Linked DNA regions of Homo sapiens: regions 1, 2, 3, 5 and 6 are each linked to region 4. The links are contacts of gene promoters, found by promoter capture Hi-C in blood cells and fetal thymus (Javierre and others, 2016). All regions are on one chromosome and are shown on one strand. Each heading gives the region's core, a stretch centred on a gene start or on the middle of the fragment in contact. The rest is flanking DNA. Distances are from core to core; before and after follow the strand shown.

Evidence for each region. Contacts are between HindIII fragments. The CHiCAGO score rates a contact against its expected background, and 5 or more counts as called.
Region 1: a contact is called between a fragment that was not itself captured here and the fragment with the promoter of KCNRG in region 4, in 1 of 17 cell types (total B cells). The highest score is 6.2, in total B cells.
Region 2: a fragment that was not itself captured here is called in contact with the fragment with the promoter of KCNRG in region 4 in 1 of 17 cell types (naive B cells); the score reaches 5.1 in naive B cells.
Region 3: a contact is called between a fragment that was not itself captured here and the fragment with the promoter of KCNRG in region 4, in 2 of 17 cell types (total CD8 T cells and megakaryocytes). The highest score is 5.3, in total CD8 T cells.
Region 5: a contact is called between a fragment that was not itself captured here and the fragment with the promoter of KCNRG in region 4, in 1 of 17 cell types (naive B cells). The highest score is 5.2, in naive B cells.
Region 6: a fragment that was not itself captured here is called in contact with the fragment with the promoter of KCNRG in region 4 in 3 of 17 cell types (total B cells, naive B cells and naive CD4 T cells); the score reaches 8.7 in total B cells.

The regions. Positions count from the first base shown.
Region 1 is chr13:50,592,522-50,596,050 of GRCh38, forward strand. No RefSeq gene overlaps it. Among named protein-coding and RNA genes, the nearest start is that of DLEU1-AS1, 67 kb to the left of the region's middle. RefSeq lists a silencer at 1,956-2,155 and an enhancer at 2,256-2,455. The HindIII fragment of the contact is 2,529 bases long and covers 746-3,274 here.
Region 2 is chr13:50,634,230-50,637,771 of GRCh38, forward strand. No RefSeq gene overlaps it. Among named protein-coding and RNA genes, the nearest start is that of DLEU1-AS1, 110 kb to the left of the region's middle. RefSeq lists enhancers at 1,248-1,447, 1,844-2,138 and a silencer at 1,844-2,138. The HindIII fragment of the contact is 917 bases long and covers 1,745-2,661 here.
Region 3 is chr13:50,528,800-50,532,050 of GRCh38, forward strand. No RefSeq gene overlaps it. Among named protein-coding and RNA genes, the nearest start is that of DLEU1-AS1, 3.0 kb to the left of the region's middle. RefSeq lists enhancers at 33-1,232, 173-861, 862-1,550. The HindIII fragment of the contact is 1,070 bases long and covers 919-1,988 here.
Region 4 is chr13:50,013,598-50,016,711 of GRCh38, forward strand. It overlaps KCNRG (potassium channel regulator), which reads left to right and starts at 1,847. Exons shown (of 2, transcript NM_173605.2): 1 at 1,847-2,474. The coding sequence starts at 1,897. It overlaps TRIM13 (tripartite motif containing 13), which reads left to right. Exons shown (of 2, transcript NM_213590.3): 2 at 1-3,114. The region is part of intron 10 of DLEU2 (deleted in lymphocytic leukemia 2); the gene reads right to left. The HindIII fragment of the contact is 12,687 bases long and covers 1-2,255 here.
Region 5 is chr13:50,738,004-50,741,159 of GRCh38, forward strand. It overlaps a transcript of DLEU7 not described here. Among named protein-coding and RNA genes, the nearest start is that of DLEU7-AS1, 68 kb to the right of the region's middle. The HindIII fragment of the contact is 1,040 bases long and covers 846-1,885 here.
Region 6 is chr13:50,775,440-50,778,749 of GRCh38, forward strand. It overlaps a transcript of DLEU7 not described here. Among named protein-coding and RNA genes, the nearest start is that of DLEU7-AS1, 31 kb to the right of the region's middle. The HindIII fragment of the contact is 3,595 bases long and covers 1-3,310 here.

The DNA of each region.
Region 1 (3,529 bases), core at 760-3,259, 580 kb after region 4:
CAGCATTACCACAAAAACCTGAGTAATGCATTGTACTACAATGTCATAATGGCTATGATGTCACTAGATAGGAATTTTTCAGCTCCATTATAATCTTGTGGGAGCATCATTATATATGTAGTTCATCATTGACCAAGACGTTATTATGTGATGCAATTTATACATAAATGCTTACATCTTTTTAAAAAAATGTAACTTAGCAGTATATCTTAAAGATTGTTCACTGCAGAAACTGTGGTTTCATTTATTTATAGCTGTATGGTATTCTGTAGTATGGATGTGCATGCCTACAATCTCCTGTCTGTAATTCCTAAAATTAAAAACAAAACAAAACAAACCTCTGTGAACCAAATAGCAAACTCATTTGGTGGCAAAACGTGACTTAGACTGATACAAGGACTGATATATAAGGTTCAATGCCCCATATGAGCTTTCTAAATTTCAAAACATTCTGACATGCAAACCACATCAAAACCCAGGGTTTCAAATAAAAAATTGTGGAGCTGAACTGTAATTCATTTAACTAGACCCTTGTTGACTGGCATTTGGATTTCTAAAAGTACTTTTTGCTATTACAGTGTGGTAGTAAATAATGTTGTATGTCACTTCACACCTGTAAAATAACATACATAGGATTAATTTCTAGAATTGGGATTTCTAGGTCAAAGAGTAAATGCATTTGCAATTTTGACATATTTGGCTAAATTATCCTCTGTAAAGGTTTTATATCTTCTCACCCCTCATAAGCTTATTCCCCCAACATTCTTCTTTTTCAGTCTTTCCATTTGAGAGGAGTAAGCATCTTTTCATACTTTAAATGGCTACATTCAGTTCATTTTCTGTGAGCTGTTCGTTTATTTATTTTGCTCATTTTTTACATTGGATTGTTGAAGTTTTTTTTAGTGATTTGTCAGAGTTCTTTATGTATAAAGGAAATGAATCCCTTGTGATACAATCTGCAATTTTTTTCTAGTTGACTTGCTTTCAACTTACTTGTGGTGGCTTTTGCTGTTGGGTTTATTTGTAGACTTATTTATTTATTTGTTTTCTCTCTCTGCAGACAACTTTCCTTCAGACTATGTGTTTTTTTAACTCCATATGTGGCATAATCTATTCTGATTTTTCTAAAGAAAGAGAAAGAAGTAAAGGATGCAGGGCAAAAAGCTATCCATATGATTTAGGTCTTAGGAGACTCAGGAAATTGATAGGCAACATTGAACATTTTAAATTCAGCACTTACTAAGGGTTTTGTGTTAAGTTTTTGTATCTATCTATAACAATAGCAACTTTCATTAGTGCATAGTACAATAATAGAATATATATATCTTAAAAACAATTTTGTTTTTTGTCTCAGTCAGAAAGCACAACCGTGTGCACAGTCACCTAACCATGTCTATTCCCTGTCTCTTGCTTTCCTTTTTCAAAGCATGTTTTGCTCTGTGGGTGTGCATGCCTGTGCGTGTGTTTTGTTTTTAAAGACATTGCTCATGTGCATAGTGCAAAGGTCATTAAAGAGAAAATTTGATTAGTTATTAAGTATGTTGTAAATATATTGGTATTGAAGACTATTTATTATATTTCCAAAGAAAAGATAAATGTTTCAAATACTTTAAGATAAAGAAGACTTCTGTTGAAATCCCCAATTAACTTTAAACTTTTCAAATCAGCAATCAGAATGAAAGGTGGTTAACCATCTGACATTTTGGCAATCTTGTGACATATACCGTAGTAAAGGCCAAAAAAACTGGAATTGAGTTTCATGAGAGGGAACAGATTCTAAGATTCGAGTGCAGAGGTGCCTGCATTATTCGAGTGCAGAGGTGCCTGCATTATTGTGGCTCTATTTGCTGTCTATTTCACTTGCCTATGCTTTGGGCCAGTGTAGGCCTCTTCTCTTTTCACTTTAAGCCTGTGGTTAATTTTCAAGTAAGAGGGCCCCATGGGGTGAGGCCCAGAGGAGGCGAAGGCTGGGGGTAGGTCAGGCGGGGGCGGGTGGGGGGGGGCCTGCAGACCACAGCCTCTGTTTATCCGCAGTGCAGGTGCAAGGCAGTGGCGGGAAGGCGGTGCCCCTGGGACTTCTCCCAATCAATCACCCCACCTAGGCCACCGGGTGGCCCCTTGGGGCTGCCTCACACAAAGTGCAGCCTTTCTCTGACATCCCAAACAGGCAGAGAGGCCAGAGTTCACAGAGAGCAGGGCTTTCACTACTTGGCTGTTTTTAAAATGTAGTCAAGTTAAACTGCAGGGAGAGTCCCAAATGGTAAAAATCTAAATAGTCTCACTTTCAGTCCATCTCCCTGCTCCCTGGAGCTGCTCTGACCTTACCTTCGATTTCCTGTCTTGAGCCTCCCCTCTCCATTTGAGGGGGTCACTGTTGTTTTTTCCCTCCTGTGAAACTCCTGCTTAGCTTCCAGCCTTTGGAGAAAGTGCTTAATATTTTCAGCAGTGGAGACTTCCTTTGCAGGCTTCAGAAAGACAATTTTCTTCGGGGAAGAAAGAAAGTGAGACCATAGCCAATGCAGCAGCTGACAGCCTCTAGCCAGACAGATGTTAGAGGAGGCAGAAGTGAGGAAAGATACAATATACTTTGGGGAATTTGTTAATCTGAAATTATTAATTATACTCTTGCTAAAGGCATTGTATTAAAAATCGGGCAACAAGAGAAAGAAGTAGAGATGCAGTTTCTACAATTCAGTTCACAATATACTTGAAAAGATCAAATAATGGCACATCAAAAGTAGAAACAGTAAATGGGTTAGCTCGGGGTTTAAATCCTAGTGCTGCTAGTTCATAGCTATATGACCCTGGCAAATTGCTTAACCTCTCTGAGCCTCTATTTTCTCATGAGTAAAGTGGAGATAGTGAGAGTATATACCTCCTAGGATTGCCCTGAGGATTAAATGAGATAAGTATGTAAAGTGCATGTCACTGGACTTGGCCTTCAGCAAGACTTAGTGAATGTGAGTGTTCATTGGTACAAACTCTGTATATGTTACAAGAGTACACAGTAGGACTCCTAGGAGTTCAGAAACGGGCAGGGCCCCCGTGGCTGGGATGATCAGAGAGAAGCTGCCACGAGGGGAGAAAGATTTGGCTTGAGTCAGAGAAAAGTAAAAGAACTTATATATGTGGAGGATTTTAGCTGAGGGGATGGCAAGTGGGTGGTACTGAGGCTCCCACGGCCTCCCCATTTTATGTGAACAAGATGAACTTCACTATTATCATGTTATATATTGGGGGGCCAGGGTCTTCCAAGTAAGACTTGGTGTGAAGAAGCTTTTTGTTCACACACACACACACAAATTGAAAACCAATGACTTGCTTAAAGGCAACTGGTGGATGAGACAAGAGCAGTATCTGAAAAGAAGATTTACATTCCCTAATGTGCATTTGTTCAGGGAGTCATTTGATAAACTTACCGAGGACCTCTTATGTTCTAGGTAAGAGGTGGAGGACACAAAGATCACTGAGATACTGTGGCTCCTGCTCCCGGCTTCTACTCGTGGGACAGTCAGCCACTTAAGTGAAC
Region 2 (3,542 bases), core at 953-3,452, 620 kb after region 4:
CTGGTTTATTGTACACTTTATTTCCATTATTATTACATTGTGATATATAATGAAACAATTATACAATCTGACATAATGTAGAATCAGTGGGAGCCCTGAGCTTGTTTTCCTGCAACTAGGTGGTCCCATGTCGGGGTGATGGGAGACAGTGACAGATCATCAGGCATTAGACTCTCATGAGGAGCATGCAACCGAGATCCCTCGCATACACAGTTCACAATAGGGTTTGCACTCCTATGAGAATCTAATGCTGCCTGCTGATCTGACAGGAGTCAGGGCTCAGGTGGTAATGCAAGCTATGAGGAGCAGCTGTAAATACAGATGAAGCTTCTCTCACTCACCTGTCACTCACCTCCTGCTGTGTGGCCCAGTTCCTAACAGGCCACAGACCAGTACCAGTCTGTGGCCCTGGGGTTGGGGGCTCCTGGTCTGGAGAGTATAGAGTAAACTCTAACAGGAGTGCAGAGGCTGACCATGGCACTTTGGGATGCTGTGGGGTGGAGAGCCTTGCTTTTACCTCAAAATATAAAATTGTATGCCCCAGTTAATCTGAGTAGGAATAATATCATTGGCTCCCTTTAGCATAGCTGTGATAGGCTGAGAGCACTCTCAGAATTTAATTAATTCTCAAGGAAAATCAATGGGGGAGAAACACAGATATATAAGATAGGATTCAATTTCCAAAGATTACCTTCTGATCTGGTCACATCAGGTGCTTCCAGGCCTTAAAGGCCTTATCATCTTTTCAAAGTCACATTGTCTTGACATGCCTGTATCCTATCCCGCATCGCTATAATTTTGTGGAACCTCATCTGTGACTCTACTTCCTAAGTCTGAGCATGTTTATGACTAGAGAGTACCAGGTTAACAGCAATTTTTCAAGAGCTATCTCAGAAACAACTGGAAGCTTCTGAAATCAGGGCAAAGAAATTCCAGTTCCCCATTGTCCTCCACCTAGGGCTCTCCTTCTGAGTTCAGTTTTCATATGACTCTTTCCCAGGTGTCTTTTTAATTACCGTAACGTTCATATAACAAGACTTCTGCCCTGAAAAGATCCTTAGAGTCTGTCAATTCCAATCTGTTCCCTTTACAGAAGAAGAAATGTTACAGAGAGATAGAGATAAGAGAAAATGCAGTGAAGAATCCATACCCTTTTGTATCTTTAGGGCAAAGCATTACAGCAAACATAGGGAAATGAATAGAAAATTATAGACACTTTGGAGATGTCATAGTCTAGAATGAAAATTCCATGAGCCATCTGGCCTCTTCATTGCTGTGTCTCTTGTTCCTCTCTCATGCTAGAAACTCAAGACATTTTGTATTATTGAAACTGTGACCCAAACAGTTAAAGAAACCAGTGACTAGATAAGAAAAGAAAAAACTTGCTGAAATGCGGAAACTCCCTCTGCTTGCAACATAACAAACCTAGCTGAAATCAGTTGGAACCAATATGGCCAAATGGAGTCAGTGCAGAACGAGCTTGCTGATGTCACAACCCAAATTTCCACTGCATGTTTCACACTAACTTCCCCCAAATTTGCAACATGTGACCCATGAGGAAGCGTGCAGAGATAACTGTGTGTGCCAAGGATTTTCTGGATCTCCCCTTTCCTTCCACCAATCACCAGTTAATCTCAGAATCCACCCCTAACCCTTTTCTAATAAAAATACTGCCTTAAAGTCAGCACAAGGAGACAGATTTGAGCTGAACTTCTGTCCCCTTGTTGGTCGACCTACAATAAAAAGCTTTTATTTTCTCAAAACCCCAGTGTCATAGTATTGGTTTCTAGCACTTCAGGCAGCAAGGCCTTTTGCTTGGTAACAATATGAATAAATGTCAAACTTTGTTTAAGTAAATTACCCACATAGATACCTAATTGTGGAGACAAGCAGAATGAGTATGTAAATTACCCTGGCCTGAGAGCTTTCTCTGGGTTGCCTGGCAACCAAGGTAGCCTGAAAGCCCCACCTCTCCTAGGAGAGGCTACAAGTTCTCATAGGACCAGGGACATTCCTTTCTCCAGTGGGAGTGGCTGTCTCAAACTAACTTCCCACAGGTTTAGGACCCCTAAAGCCTCCAGGTGCTGAGCCTCTGGCATTTCCTAGCAATCCCCTAAACAGCTAGAACCTAAGCTCAGGCAGCTTAGTAGCTGAGCCCAAAATATTGATTTTCTCAGACTGCTCTCACACCAAGAGGCTGTAATTCAGAGACAGACCCCACTCCTATAACGATGGAAAACAACAGGAAGTGGGATGTCTCCCTTGCCGCAAGGCCCCTCAGTGTGTTTGTCGCTGCTCTGGCCATAGTCCGCCTCTCTGGGGATGCCAACACAAGAAAGGACACATCACCTGCGGACCTATTTGTGAGTTTCAGTCTGCTCGCTGCTGGTTACCCACCCCTTGCACCAATTCACAACACCACGAGTTAGAATAGAATCATTGTCATGTTTAGAACCTGAAGCTATTCTCATTGTACCAATGTGGTAACTGAGGACCAAATAAATTGAGTGCCGGTCGTAAGTCATGTGGTAACTAATGACAATCAGGAGTATATCCCAAGCCTCCTGGGTGCTTCCTCAGATCAGTTATTTGGTCACTTAGGGTGAAAAAGGGTGATTAATGCATGTATTAGGGCTTATGGGGTGGAAGGACCTAGACATAAGCTTTTGGAACTGCAATAGCCCTCCCATAGATCATGGGAAGTCTATTACCCTCCCAAGGATTTCTGCAAACTCCTTATGGGCTGTATTTTCAGAATAATCTTCAGTATCCATTTCTGCTGATTAGATCTGTTTCTGCTGATTAGAGAACTCGGTATTCAAATTTCCAGTGGTCTCATAAATACAATTTTTAAAGTTCAGTTTCTTTGAAACGGGATTCAAATAAACCAAACTTTAAAAATTATATTTGTGAGATCACTGGAAATCTTGTGACTAGTGGATATGTTCCTAAGTCTTTATTAATTAATAAGTTCTATTTCCACCTCTTGTTATGTAGTCCTTTCAATTTATCTGTTGAATAAGCCAAGGTTTCCCACAGTTTGGATTTTGTCAATTGTATCCTTGTGGCATTAATTAATATGGTTCTCTGTTAATTCATTAGGGATTTTTTAAATGGTGTTAGTCTATGTTACTTCTTCATTTATTAGCCAGAATAATAACTTCTATAAAGAGAAACTTTCCCTGATTGACCGTTATGTTATTCAGAGCTGTTTCTAATGGGGAAGACAGGATAGGTGCTTGATTCTCTCCCTTAATTTGTCTGTTTTCAATAATGAAAAATATTTGAAGATAACTACTGAGTTTTTTTAAAAAAATTATGAAGTCATGAATTTAAATATATTTTGCATCTTTTAGCTAATTGCAGTCTTTGTGCTATTTTTTTTTTTTTTTTGAGATGGAGTCTTGCTCTGTTGCCCAGGCTGGAGTGCAGTGGCATGATCTCGGCTCACTGCAAGCTCCGCCTGCCAGGTTCACGCCATTCTCCTGCCTCAGCCTCCCGAATAGCTGGGACCACAGGCACCCGCCACCACGCCAGGCTAA
Region 3 (3,251 bases), core at 204-2,703, 510 kb after region 4:
ATTTCAGGGCAGACGAAAGTTCCGTGGTATATCTTTTTAATGTGGCAGGCCTCGAGGGTGGATTGAGTTAGGCAATTTATCCCCTTTTATGCCCTATATTCACATGCAACACTCCAATGGGGTAACATAAAACCACAGACAGGTTTCTTTACACCGGTATTTAAGGGAACTAGGAAAGCAGCCCAAATCATGTGGAGAAAGCTGGGGAAAGAAGTATCAGAGGAGAAAGAGGACCTTAGCAGAAATGACAAAAGTGAAAAACCTTCCTAACTCCTTCAGACATGATGCTTAAAATTGTGTTTCTTTGGCAACTTATAATTTTCTGAAGCTGGTTCTCAGCCTCAGATCCTCCCCCAAGGTTTTTATGTTGTATTTTGACTCAGTAGGAGGGATCCAGTCCCAGACCTTCCGGCTCTCACCAGTACACCACAGGCTAACGCCATCCAGCAATCAGATGACAGGAGGAGGAGAGGTTCAAAGAGGACTACTGTATTTCTCAGAAGGGGCTGGCTCATCTACCCTCCACTGTATTACTCACACTGTAGATGCAGAAAACATGTCAAAGTATACTGGGGCTCTGCAATGCATGCACCCACACACATGTACACATACGCACAGACTTCCAAACTAAAAAGGAGAACAGAGCTCAAAAGGGGACAGTGTGCAACTGGTGCTCCATGTTGTAAGGACCTCCCCTCCTGCGGGCGCGGCTACCCCAGCAGGCTTGTCCGGGCATGTCCGCCCAGTTGACGCCAGGCCAAGTTTTACGGGAGGAATTGGCCTGTGTCTAAAGCTGGAGTTCAGCTTTGCTGACTATGGAGACTGATCTGTTGGTTGTCAGCAAAGAAAAGGTGGTTTCAAAAGAGCAGCAGAGGACTCTGTGCTAGTTGCTACTGGCCAGCTTTGACTCCGATTGGAAGCTTGAAAAACATAGATTGGAAGCTATGCAGAATATCCAGTGACAGAAATAAATCAGAGATTGCCAGGGGCTGAGGGTGAGAGGAAGGAGATTGACTTCAAAGGGGCACAGATAATTTCTCAGGGTGTCGGAAATATTCTGTCTTGATTGAGGTGGTGATTACTCGACTGTATATGCTTGTAAAAATTTGTAGAACTGTGTGCCTGAAAAGGGTGAATTCTACTGTATGTAAATTATAACTCGATAAACCTGATTTTTAAAAACACTGTAGTTTGGGAGGCCATATAAAACCAAATAACATTTTGAGTCATTAATGCCTCTTTAAGAATATTTTGGATTGATTTTTTTTATTAGATTAAAAAAATTCTTCATGGTAAATATTAATTAACCCTTTAAGAGCCAAGTGGAGGAGTGGAATCTGTATGTTTTAGAGTTGTTTGTTCTTTTTAGTTGGTCACTTTACACACTTAATTTTCAATTTTATTTAGAAAAAGAAGTTATGCTTATGAAGCATAAAAGCTGTAATTCCAAAAGTTGAATTGGTTTTGAGACCCCAAAGTCATGACTATGTAGAGAATTTCTAAATTCTTAAGGATAACCTATTTAGGAAAACCTAAGAAATCAACTATTACAACTAATGCTTCATTATGATACCTGGTTACAAAATATAAAAAATATCCATAATCAGATAATAATCGTAAAGAGGGAAAAGAGCTCTTTTACAACAGGGGAAAAACAAAGCAAAACAAGCAAGAATAAGAACAATAAAACCTGGAAACAAACTTGTTTGTTTATATAGGGCTTCTATCAATTTAGTTGTAAAACTTTAGTTAATATGAAATCAGGCTTGAATAAATTGAGACATATTTTATATTATTGGATGATGTCACTGTTCCTCAAATTGATGGTTAGGTCCAATATGATTCTAATCAAAATCCCAATTGGAATATTTTTGAATGAAAATGTGACTGTAAGGTTTATCTAGAATAATTTGTGGATAAAAATAACCAAGAAAGATTTATAAACAAATAAGGTAAACTGTACTTCAGGTGTTAAAAACCTGTTATAAAGCTTTAATAACATGATATTGGTATACAACTAGACAGAGAGAAGAGAATAGAGTCCCCAAACACACTCAAATACATATAAGAATTTAGTATTTGATGAAGACACTTCAAATTAGGGAAGGAAATGAAAGATTATGCCAGTGAATAGTGCTGGGGAAATTAATTCAGTTTTTAAGGGAAGGAGGAGACCCAAATCATATCCCTAAATAAATTCTGGATGAATTAAATAAATTTTAAAATATGAAAACACAAATGAGTAAAAGAAATTATGATAAGTATCTATCAACTCTCAATGTATGGAAGCACTTTTTAAACAAAAAGGTAGAGGAAGAATCTATAAAAGAGAAAACAGAATGTTTTTACATAAAAATTATAAACATATACATCAAAACTCATGATAAAGAAACATAAGGCAAAGAATAACTTGAAAAAAGGGCAAAATAGAAGACAAAGGTTAACATGGTTAATATGTGAAGAGCTTCCGAAGTCAATGATTAGAAGATAAATATCCTAAGCAGAAAAATTTTCAATATTCACAAAAAAGGAATTTGTACGAGCAGAAAAAAATTAGACAATAAATCATGAAAAAATTTCAGGCTCACTATTTATTTAAAAATAATTTTAAAAGACACAAATTTCTGTCCATTAAATTAGCAAATATTTTAAATTTCAAAAAACTTTGATAATTACATAGTTGGGTAAAAGTTCAAGATAAAGGAAAATCTCATCCACTGCTGGTGGAAGTATAACAATCTTTTAAATTTTCTGGTTAGAAATGTTGGCAATATGTATGTATTCAAAGACTTAAAGCTGTAAACAATATTTGACCTAATAATTCCTTCTTAAGGAATCTATCCTTACTTCGGATATATTTTTAGGAAATACAAGGATTTAGGTATAAGGATGTTTATTGCAGGGTTACTTGTGACTGAAAAATTCTAAAAATAGGTTTAATTACTGACAGCTCATCTGTAGGCATGGCAAACCACATTCTCAGGAATATTTAAGGCTTTAGAAAAAATATAAAAGGTAACATGAAGTGAAAAATGTAACGGCAAAGTTGCATGTACAGGAGAGCTGTGGGTGGGCTTGGCTATATATGTACGTACATGCATATATGTACACATACAGAAAAAAGACTGGAAGGATTTGTGTCGATGAAATGTTAATAGTGGTTCTTAGGATGGTGGAATGATTAGTGGGTTTTTATTACCTTTATGTGGCACTTTTTCAAATTTTCTGTAAAAAGGCTGTATTAACTTTAT
Region 4 (3,114 bases), core at 597-3,096:
CTGCAGCCTCTACCTCCCAGGTTCAAGTGATTATCCTGCCTTAGCCTCCTGAGTAGCTGGGATTACAGGCGCGTGCCACCACGCCCAGCTAATTTTTTGTATTTTTAGTTGAGACAGGGTTTCACTGTCCCTTAAGACCATCCTGTTAGCCAAGATGGTCTTGATCTCCTGACCTCGTGATCCGCCTGCCTCGGCCTCCCAAAGTGCTGGGATTACAGGTGTGAGCCACCGTGCCCAGCCAAAGACTGCTCTTAAAGCACCTTTTTGACAGTGAACATGGTCTAAAAAAGGGAAGATATTGTAGAAGATTTCACACACACACGCGTGTGTGGGAGACAACTAAAGGTATTGAAGGTACTAATTAATTAGATTTCCAAAATTTTCTACAGAGAGTTAATTATCACCAAAATGTGAATGGTACATACAAAACCTGGCATTTTCTTGTGATAAGTTTACATTTTTAGGAGAGTGGAGCTTTCAATCTGCCCTTTTCTCCTTTGTTTTTGTAGTTTTCACCAAAGATGATCAACTAGAAATGTTAAGTGGCTATGCAAGCAAAAGCATAGATAGGTTAAAAAAAAGGATCAGCTGGCTGGGCAGGGTGGCTCATGTCTATAATCTCAGCATTCTAGGACAGTGATGTGGGAGGATTATTTGAGGCTAGGAGTTCCAGTTCGAAACCAGCTTCGTAAACATAGCAAGACCCAGTCTCTACCAAAAAAAAAAAAAAAAAAAAAAAAAAAAAAAATATATATATATATATACACACACACACACACATATGTACACATACATATATATACATATATATGTATATATAGAACACATGGCAAGAGCAGGAAATGGGAAGACTACCTTTTTTCTGGCAGCTATGTGTTGTTTTGTTCGAAAGATGGCAAGTGTACAACCAAACCAATCCACTTGCTTACAGAAAGAATGTTTAGTGTAGTTAAGACTAATTTGACAACAGATAAAACAGTCTGTCAGCTATTACAAAGTAATCAGCTGAACACTAATGCTGTTCTGTCTGCTCACAAGAGATAAAGATACCCTCTCATGGAATAAACACCTTGCTTAGAATTCATATAACAAAGAAGTAACCTTATAACTGCTCTCTAGTCTGCCTTATTTGTGTCATAGAGTAAGATATTCCTTGAAAGCCCATTAAGTGGAATAGACTTTCTGAAAATAAGAGTTCTTTACCTCAGTCCTCCTCTAATTTGGTTGAGAGGAGGTAATGAAAATGGGGACAGGATAAAAGGTGGCAACTAAATTTAAAGCACAGAAGAAATGATTTCCTTCTAGCTATGAGAATAGTCAAATTGAGCTTGCCAGGCTGTCTCATTCCTAACATGTAATTCATGATTTAGCCACTAAATTTCTAAGGAGATCATAAGAAATTAAGAAAAACGTTTAAGTCTAGCCTCTGCGTGGTAGACAGGTATGGGGAGGGAGAATGCTTTTCCCCTCCCAGTAATAAAAAAAAAAAAAAAAAAAATATATATATATATATATATATATATATATATATATATATATATATATATATATATAGTTTTACTAGGTTTTCATGGATAAGTTTTTAAATGTAAGACAGGAAAGGGATCTATTTGATGTCTATCTTCAGATATATTGGCAGTTTTCCTTAAGCTATTTAGTTCCTCATCTGTTGCTTTTTCATTTTGTATACTGCAAGTTCCCAGGCAACTCGAATTTGCAAACACAGCCATGGATACACTATTTACCTTACAGTAGTTTCCTGGGAATCTAAGTCTGGTTTTTGTTATTCTTCCCTCCCCTCCACTGCATAATCATGTATAACTAGCAACATTTATGGTTATAGGTTGATTTCCTAAGTGTGGCTGATGGTAGCCTCTAGTTTGAAGTGAGGGAAGAATGAGTAGTCAGGAACTGGTCACTTTGAATGTGGGAGGGAAGATATTCACGACAAGGTTTTCTACGATAAAGCAGTTTCCTGCTTCTCGTTTGGCACGCATGTTAGATGGCAGAGACCAAGAATTCAAGATGGTTGGTGGCCAGATTTTTGTAGACAGAGATGGTGATTTGTTTAGTTTCATCTTAGATTTTTTGAGAACTCACCAGCTTTTATTACCCACTGAATTTTCAGACTATCTTAGGCTTCAGAGAGAGGCTCTTTTCTATGAACTTCGTTCTCTAGTTGATCTCTTAAACCCATACCTGCTACAGCCAAGACCTGCTCTTGTGGAGGTACATTTCCTAAGCCGGAACACTCAAGCTTTTTTCAGGGTGTTTGGCTCTTGCAGCAAAACAATTGAGATGCTAACAGGGAGGATTACAGTGTTTACAGAACAACCTTCAGCGCCGACCTGGAATGGTAACTTTTTCCCTCCTCAGATGACCTTACTTCCACTGCCTCCACAAAGACCTTCTTACCATGACCTGGTTTTCCAGTGTGGTTCTGACAGCACTACTGATAACCAAACTGGAGTCAGGTATTTTGTACTTTGCAGTATTTCTCTTGTATACCAGTTTGTGATGTTTTCTCTAAAAACTTGAAGTTCCTCAGGCCTGTAACTTCTGGAAAAGATGATTATTCAAAATAATGTTTTGGGGTAACCAGTGGAGTTGGGTAGAATGACCAAATAATTATTTTCCAAACTGGGATACTTTTTAGAGTGAAAGGGGCTATTATTAGGTGGGACAAAAGGAATAAATGAAGACTGCCCAGAAAAAACTGAGACTATGGACATTCAAATCATGGGAGAAAATAATTTTGTAGATTATGTTCCATTGCTAATGAATTTGACTTAGAAAAGAATTGCCTTATTTTTAAGAGATTGTTTCAGTGGTTCACATAAAGGCTCGCTCACTGGTTTCTCTTGAGTTCCTTACACACTATATAAGTTGTTCTTTCAGTTTTATGATTCAACTACTGTTTTTCCTTCAGCTGACTTTATTTTTAAACACCCTTAAAGACAGATATATCTCATGGCAAATTTGGTATCCTGTTACAGCCTTGGCTCTTAAACAACTCAAAATATTGGGATAGGCTGTCAGTATGTTAAGGATAGTTGCTCCTGAGTCAATTCTTCACTTACTCCCTCTGTTGTTCTTGGCTGGATCCTAACGCTG
Region 5 (3,156 bases), core at 116-2,615, 720 kb after region 4:
AAAGTGATTGCTTATTGCTGATATGGAGGAAGTTTGAATGGTCTGGATAGTAAATCAAACCATCCACAACATTCCCTTAAGCCAAAGCCTAACTCAGAGCAAGACCCTGACTCTTTTCAATTCTGTAAAGGCTAAGAAAGCTGCAGAAGAAATGCTTGGAACTAGCAGAGGTTGGTTTATGAAGTTTAATAGATGAAGCAGTATAACATGTTAATGGTAGAATTTAGATGGTGAGTTCTTAACATAAAATTATTTCAACTTTTCTATATGTCTGAAATTTTTCATAATAAAACATTGGGAAAAAAACCTCAGCAGTAACCACTGCCATTGTTTCAAACCTAGACTCACAAGATATTTTTTGGGAGAGGAGTATTTTATCACTGACATTGTTTAGAATTGCCAGTACATGGTGATAATAAAAAGCAGACCAACGTTCAGTCAGACTTATTCTTGTTTTTAAATTCTCAATGGCAATGCACATCTTATTGCCTGCACCCAGGGTAGGCCCTCCTACTGCTTTTGGTACATGATTAGTGTCATGGAATTGGAAAAAGTGTAATGACAAGAACCTGCCTGATTCCAAAGTTCTTCCCATGCCAACAAACTCTTTCCACATTACCCTGCTACCTACACAGCAAATCATACAAAGATGAAAAAGATACAAATCTTGCCTACAATGAGATCATAGTATAGTGGAGACAGATCCATACTTATATATTTGTGATACAAGATGAATATCATGTATTTTCAAATAACATGCTGGAAGAAAATGGGGGAAAGTTTCTTGAAAGAGATAGTATCTGAGGTGTACTGTGTTGGCTACTTAAACTCATGCGATGTTCATAAGCTTAAGCTGAAAATTCTTAACATGATCTACAAGTTCTTAGGTGATCTGGTCCCTTTCTACCTCTCTATCCTCATTCTGGACATCTCCCAGTGAGCAGCCTCTAAAAAATAATACACACACACACACACACACACACACACACACACACACACACGCACACACACACAAACACTGGCCACACTGGCCTGATTTCTGTTCTTCTTATCATGTTCTTTCCTGCCTTGCGGCTTTACCAGGGACCTACCCTACCAGGAATGCTCTTCCTTTATTTCCTCCTCTCCTCCCACCTAGCTCAATCCTACTCATTCTTCAGCAGTTAGATACAAGACTGCTTTCTCAGTAAATTCTTCTCGGACCTCTCAGGCTGGGTTGCTTCCCTTTTTTTCTTCTTTGGGACACAGAACACAACTGTTACTATACCACTTCTGTGTAAATTTCATTGTGGTCCAGATTAGAAGATCTGCATCATCTGGAACCAAATTTGACTTGTTTCCAACAGTAACCCAGTAGGCATTCAATAAATGTTTGTTGACTGAATAGACCTTCATGGCCTAGTAGGTGAATCCATGAATGAACAAAGGGCAGGCCTTTAACACTCAGTTATGAATGGAGATGAAGGCAAATGCCATCTGGAGACAGGCAAACCTTGAGCCAAAACCCAGACGGGGAAGGAATGAGAAGAGAAACAGAGACATGGGTGTTAGGTACTTTCTGAGACTGATTTTTTAACTCTCAAGAGGCTTTTGTGCTTATCCTGGAGGGGACCAGATATGAACTACCTTTTGTAAAAAATAGGTGGATTAGAGGAACGAGAGAGAATCTGCAAAAATTCTCTCACCAGCCATATCTCTAATTAAAGTTTCTAGGGAATGTTCTTTTTCTGCTACATCTCACAACACCAAAGAGACCAAAACTGGGATGTGGCCAGATCCCTGAGAATTCTCACTTTCTTATCAGCACAGTCCAACCCTACCTAGTCCCTTTTGGCCAAATGCTTAGATACATAATGACACTAGACTCCCTGTTGGGGGCATGTAAAGCTTCCCAAAGAAATGATTCTAGATGCCTAGATTTTTTTTTTATTAAATCAGAAATGGGTTAATGAATGGTAGGGCATATAGAGAGAGAATGTGTAGAGAGTTGATCCCTGCCTTGTTGTCGAGACCACACACTAGTTCATTGATTTCTGCTCCATTTCCTTAGTCCTGACAGGAATTTAAATGTTTCAAGTTCTTTTAAGCCTGAAAATGTTTGAAAAGCTTTATTCCAAAAAGGTGCTTACACATTTTTTTCCTGCAGTATTTAGGCTTCTATTTATTGATCCCTTGGTACATTCCATCCTGATGATGGGCAAATGGGAAAAGGATGAAAACTGAAACGGTATGCACAACAACCTCAAACCATAATAGTGTAACAGTAAACCATTCTTTCAACATCTGGAATCCTGTGGGCAACTTTCCTAATAAGAAAATCAAGTCAATTTAAATCCATGTCCACACAAAGACTTACAAACCATAGGCTTATTTCTTTTAATCTTTTCTGAAGTTTCTCTGTGACTAAACCTGAATTTCAATTTCCTGGTGTGCATAAAATTAGGATATTAGACTAATGGAGTTCTGCCTACTCCCATGACAGATAGAACAGGCATTGCTAATCACTTACAGAAAACTTCACAAAACAGTATACCAGGCAGTCACTACCATTCCACTCAAGACTACACATGAGCTGAAATCTATTTGCTGTCCTGGAACAAAGAGGTCCCCAAGCCTTTTTATCGCTAATCTCTGAAGTCTATGGTTCTAAAGGAAGCCTATATGAGGCGATAGTCTCAAATATAGAAACATATAAATTTACAAGCTCTCAACTTAAGAACTTTCACAGATGCAAACAAATGAACCAAAGCAAAAATGCATCCATTCTATTAAAAACCCTTATTTTAATAGTATTACTTTGATCTTATGAGTAAATGAAACCCCCAACCTTTTTGGACTGTTCCTGCTTATAAGTGAAAAGCCTTCTGTACGCCACACTTTTCTTTTCCATTATCCTCCTTACATCCTCAATTCTTCCTGAACTCATAGAAACACTTGGAACAGCCTTGTTCATCCTGGGCCCCTCTCCTCTCTACACTGTGGGCAACTGTGTCCCTACCACCACCTGCTTCCCCATCAAAATCTGTCTCAGAGAAGATCTAATAAAGTCAGCCAAGCTGAGGTATAGCTGAAAGCTAACATCTAAACAATCTTCTCTTCTCAACGTATTTCTACTGTATTAGGAACAATGCTCCAAACAGAAGGGATGCATTTCTA
Region 6 (3,310 bases), core at 400-2,899, 760 kb after region 4:
TTGAATTCCAAACTGTCTGCCTGCATTGGGCAGCTACTGAAATCTCCGCAACAGCTTTCTAGCTTTTGTTTTCTCTTGAGTTTCTTGGAGTCTCATCCTGTGCATGTGTAGACTAGGAATCGGCCAATTATTTGAGGGAAATTTCTATATAGTCCCAAACTCCATATTCTGATTCCTCAGTCTCATAAGACTACCACTTTCTGCTTCAGCTCTGTGGGCTACACGTAGATGGACTGGGAAGTAACTTTAGTGGAAAAAAACATATAAATGTGAATTTCACTCAGTAAGGGTCAAATCCCCACCAGTTTCTGCTAGCTTTTGTTTATCTCCGAATTGTTTGTTCCCAGAGTTTACAATAGCTATTGGCAGGAAAGTATTCAAATTTTCACTTTGCCATTAGTCTCTTTTTTATAATTCTCATCTGTTTTCCCTTTGTTATCTTTGGGATAATTTCATCACATTTATCTTTCCATGCATTAAATCTTCCTCTAGCTTTGTTTTGGTGACTATTTAATCTATCAATTGAGTTTTATTTTCAATAATTGTGTTTTTTATTTCTAGGAAATCTGTTTTTTCAAATCAGCCTTTTATTCCCATGAAGATGTTGTTTGTTTCTTACATTTTAAATTCCTTTTTGAGCTCCTAGTCATTTTTACAATACCTGTTTTTATAATCTCTCTCTGGGACTTGTATTACCTGTATATCCTCAAGGGTCAAATCAAGTTACTTATTCAGTCAGTTGACTTCTACTCTTGGTAGATGGTATCATTGTATGTTTGAGTTTTTGACTCAGTTTTGGATTTTGAATTTATCTGCAGCTGAGTTTTATCTGTGGAAATGATCTATGGTCCTTGGTGAAGGGTACTGCCTTCCAAAGAGGTTTTGTGTTGAATTGCCGGATAGCCCAGTGCTGTCACTGGCCTGGGCACACTTTTCACTAATTTCTTAGCTTCAGGATTCCTGCACCTTTGTGAGCTCTTTTCCAACCACAGTCAGGGCTAAAATAGCTAATTCCCTGACATATCCTTATATTGATGGGTGGCTTTATTTATAGTTCTTCCTTTTAACAAGGGATTAACCATTTAAGAGTCATGGCTCCATAGGAGGTTTGTGAGCCTCTTGTGGGTCCCAGATCTCAATTCCTATTCCTAAATAGTCATTATAACCCAAGTCTCTTGGTCACTAAGACAGGAAACTACCTCACCCCCAAATCCAGGAAAGGCATACCATCAGCTCATAGGGTCACCACTTCAGGGCTTTATCTCACTCTTTAAAGAGTTTGGCTAAACATTTAAAATGTTGATTTTCATATCTCATCTATAGTTACTAGATCTGTTATTAAGGGAGGGTTTCTATTATCTTTTTTGCCATGTTCTGGAATAGAAATCCTGTTTCTACATTTGTTTGTAAGCAGCCTAATCAAATAATGGTTTTAAACAGAGACTACTTATTGGTGGCTTATAGGTTTTGCTTGTTTGTTTGTTTGTTTTTTAAGCTGAACATTTCACATGAAAATCCAGATTTCCATCTTCTCTTGAAAATGTTGAATCTTGGGTGATATTAGGCCACATTCTCCCATGGCACCAGTAAGCTGGAACTTAGTAGTGGCTTCCCCCTTTGAAAAGGGATAAATGCTCCAGAGCTTCCCATGGCCACTACAGCACCCTACAGACTTACAACTAACCTGCTTTACTTTCCTGGCTACGGAAAGTATTTAAGTTTCTAATCACTGAACTAATAGACTTGTCACAGTTAATACTGAGTGTCAACTTGATCGGATTGAAGGATGCAAAATATTGATCCTGGGTGTGTCTGTGAGGGTGCTGCCAAAGGAGATTAACATTTGAGTCAGTGGGCTGGGAAAGGCAGACCCACCCTTAATCTGGGTGGGCACCATCTAATCAGCTGCCAGCATGGCCCGGATAAAGCAGGCAGAAAAACGTGAAAAGGCTAGACTGGCTTAGCCTCCCAACCTACATCTTTTTCCTATGCTGTATGCTTCCTGCCCTTGAACATCAGACCTCGAGTTCTTCAGCTTTGGGACTCGGACTGGCTTCCTTGCTCCTCAGCTTGTAGACAGCCTGTTGTGGAACCTTGTGATCATGTGAGTTTAATACTCCTTAATAAACCCATGTATATATCCTATTAGTTCTGTCCCTTTAGAGAACACTAATATAAGACTCTATCACATTTTTATGCATGGCATTACATGAAGAATTTCTTCTTTTGGGAAGCCTTTTTTGTTCATTCCCACAATCCATTGTTTAAAGTAATATCTTTCTCTCATCATTTAACAGGATTAGATCAAAGATGTCCCTAAGAAGCGTTGAGATGTCACAAAGTTCTAGGTAAGGAGAGAGCTTTAGTTTATGTAAATTTCATCTTTCCATAAACCTGCCCTCACCTTTCTAACCTTTTTCCTCCCCTGTATTAAGAAATATCTAACTTTATATTTCATTAGGAGGGGCATGATAAAGTAAGCAGAACACCGCAGTGGGCATCAGAATGCATTCCATTTCCAGACCTATCTCTTACCATCTGGATATCTCACTCTCAGGAAGATCAAGTGACAAACCTGGATTAGTCCATTTTCACACTGCTACAAGGAACTACCTGAGACTGGGTAGTTTATGAAGAAAAGAGGTTTAATTGATTCATAGTTCTGCAGCCTTAACAGGAAGCATGACTTGGGGGTCTCAGGAAACTTATACAATCATAGCAGAAAGTGAAGGGGAAGCAAGGTATGTCTTCTCGTGGTAGCAGGGGAGAGAGAGAGCAAAGGGGGAACTGGCACACAGTTTTAACCATCATATCTGGTGAGAACTCATTCACTATCACAAAAACAGCACAGGGCAAACCACCCTCATGATCTAGTTACCTCCTACCAGGTCCCTTCCCTGACATGTGGGGATTACGATTTGACGTGAGATTTTGGTAGGGACACAGCCAAACCAGATTAAAACCCAGACTCTCAATCTCCATCTCTGACTTCCTCCATCTGCTGCTTCCTCCTTCTTCTTTCCATCCCATAGCTATGAGAAATCAGGTGGGTGCTCTTCTATTCATCTCATGAACTACTGGACATGTTTACATTTGGGGAACTTAAAAATAAAAATGAACCAGATAGCTGTTGGCTGTTGTCTTTTTGTGAAGAATAATTTTAGGGATCAAAAGACAAAAAGAAAAACATTCTTTGTATCAGAGAATAGCATTATGATCTCCACACATAGTGCCAGCTCTTTTAACTTTGAAGGTCAAATTTCCTAGTTTTCCAAATGTCCACTGATTCCCTTTAAACAAAACCCTGTCT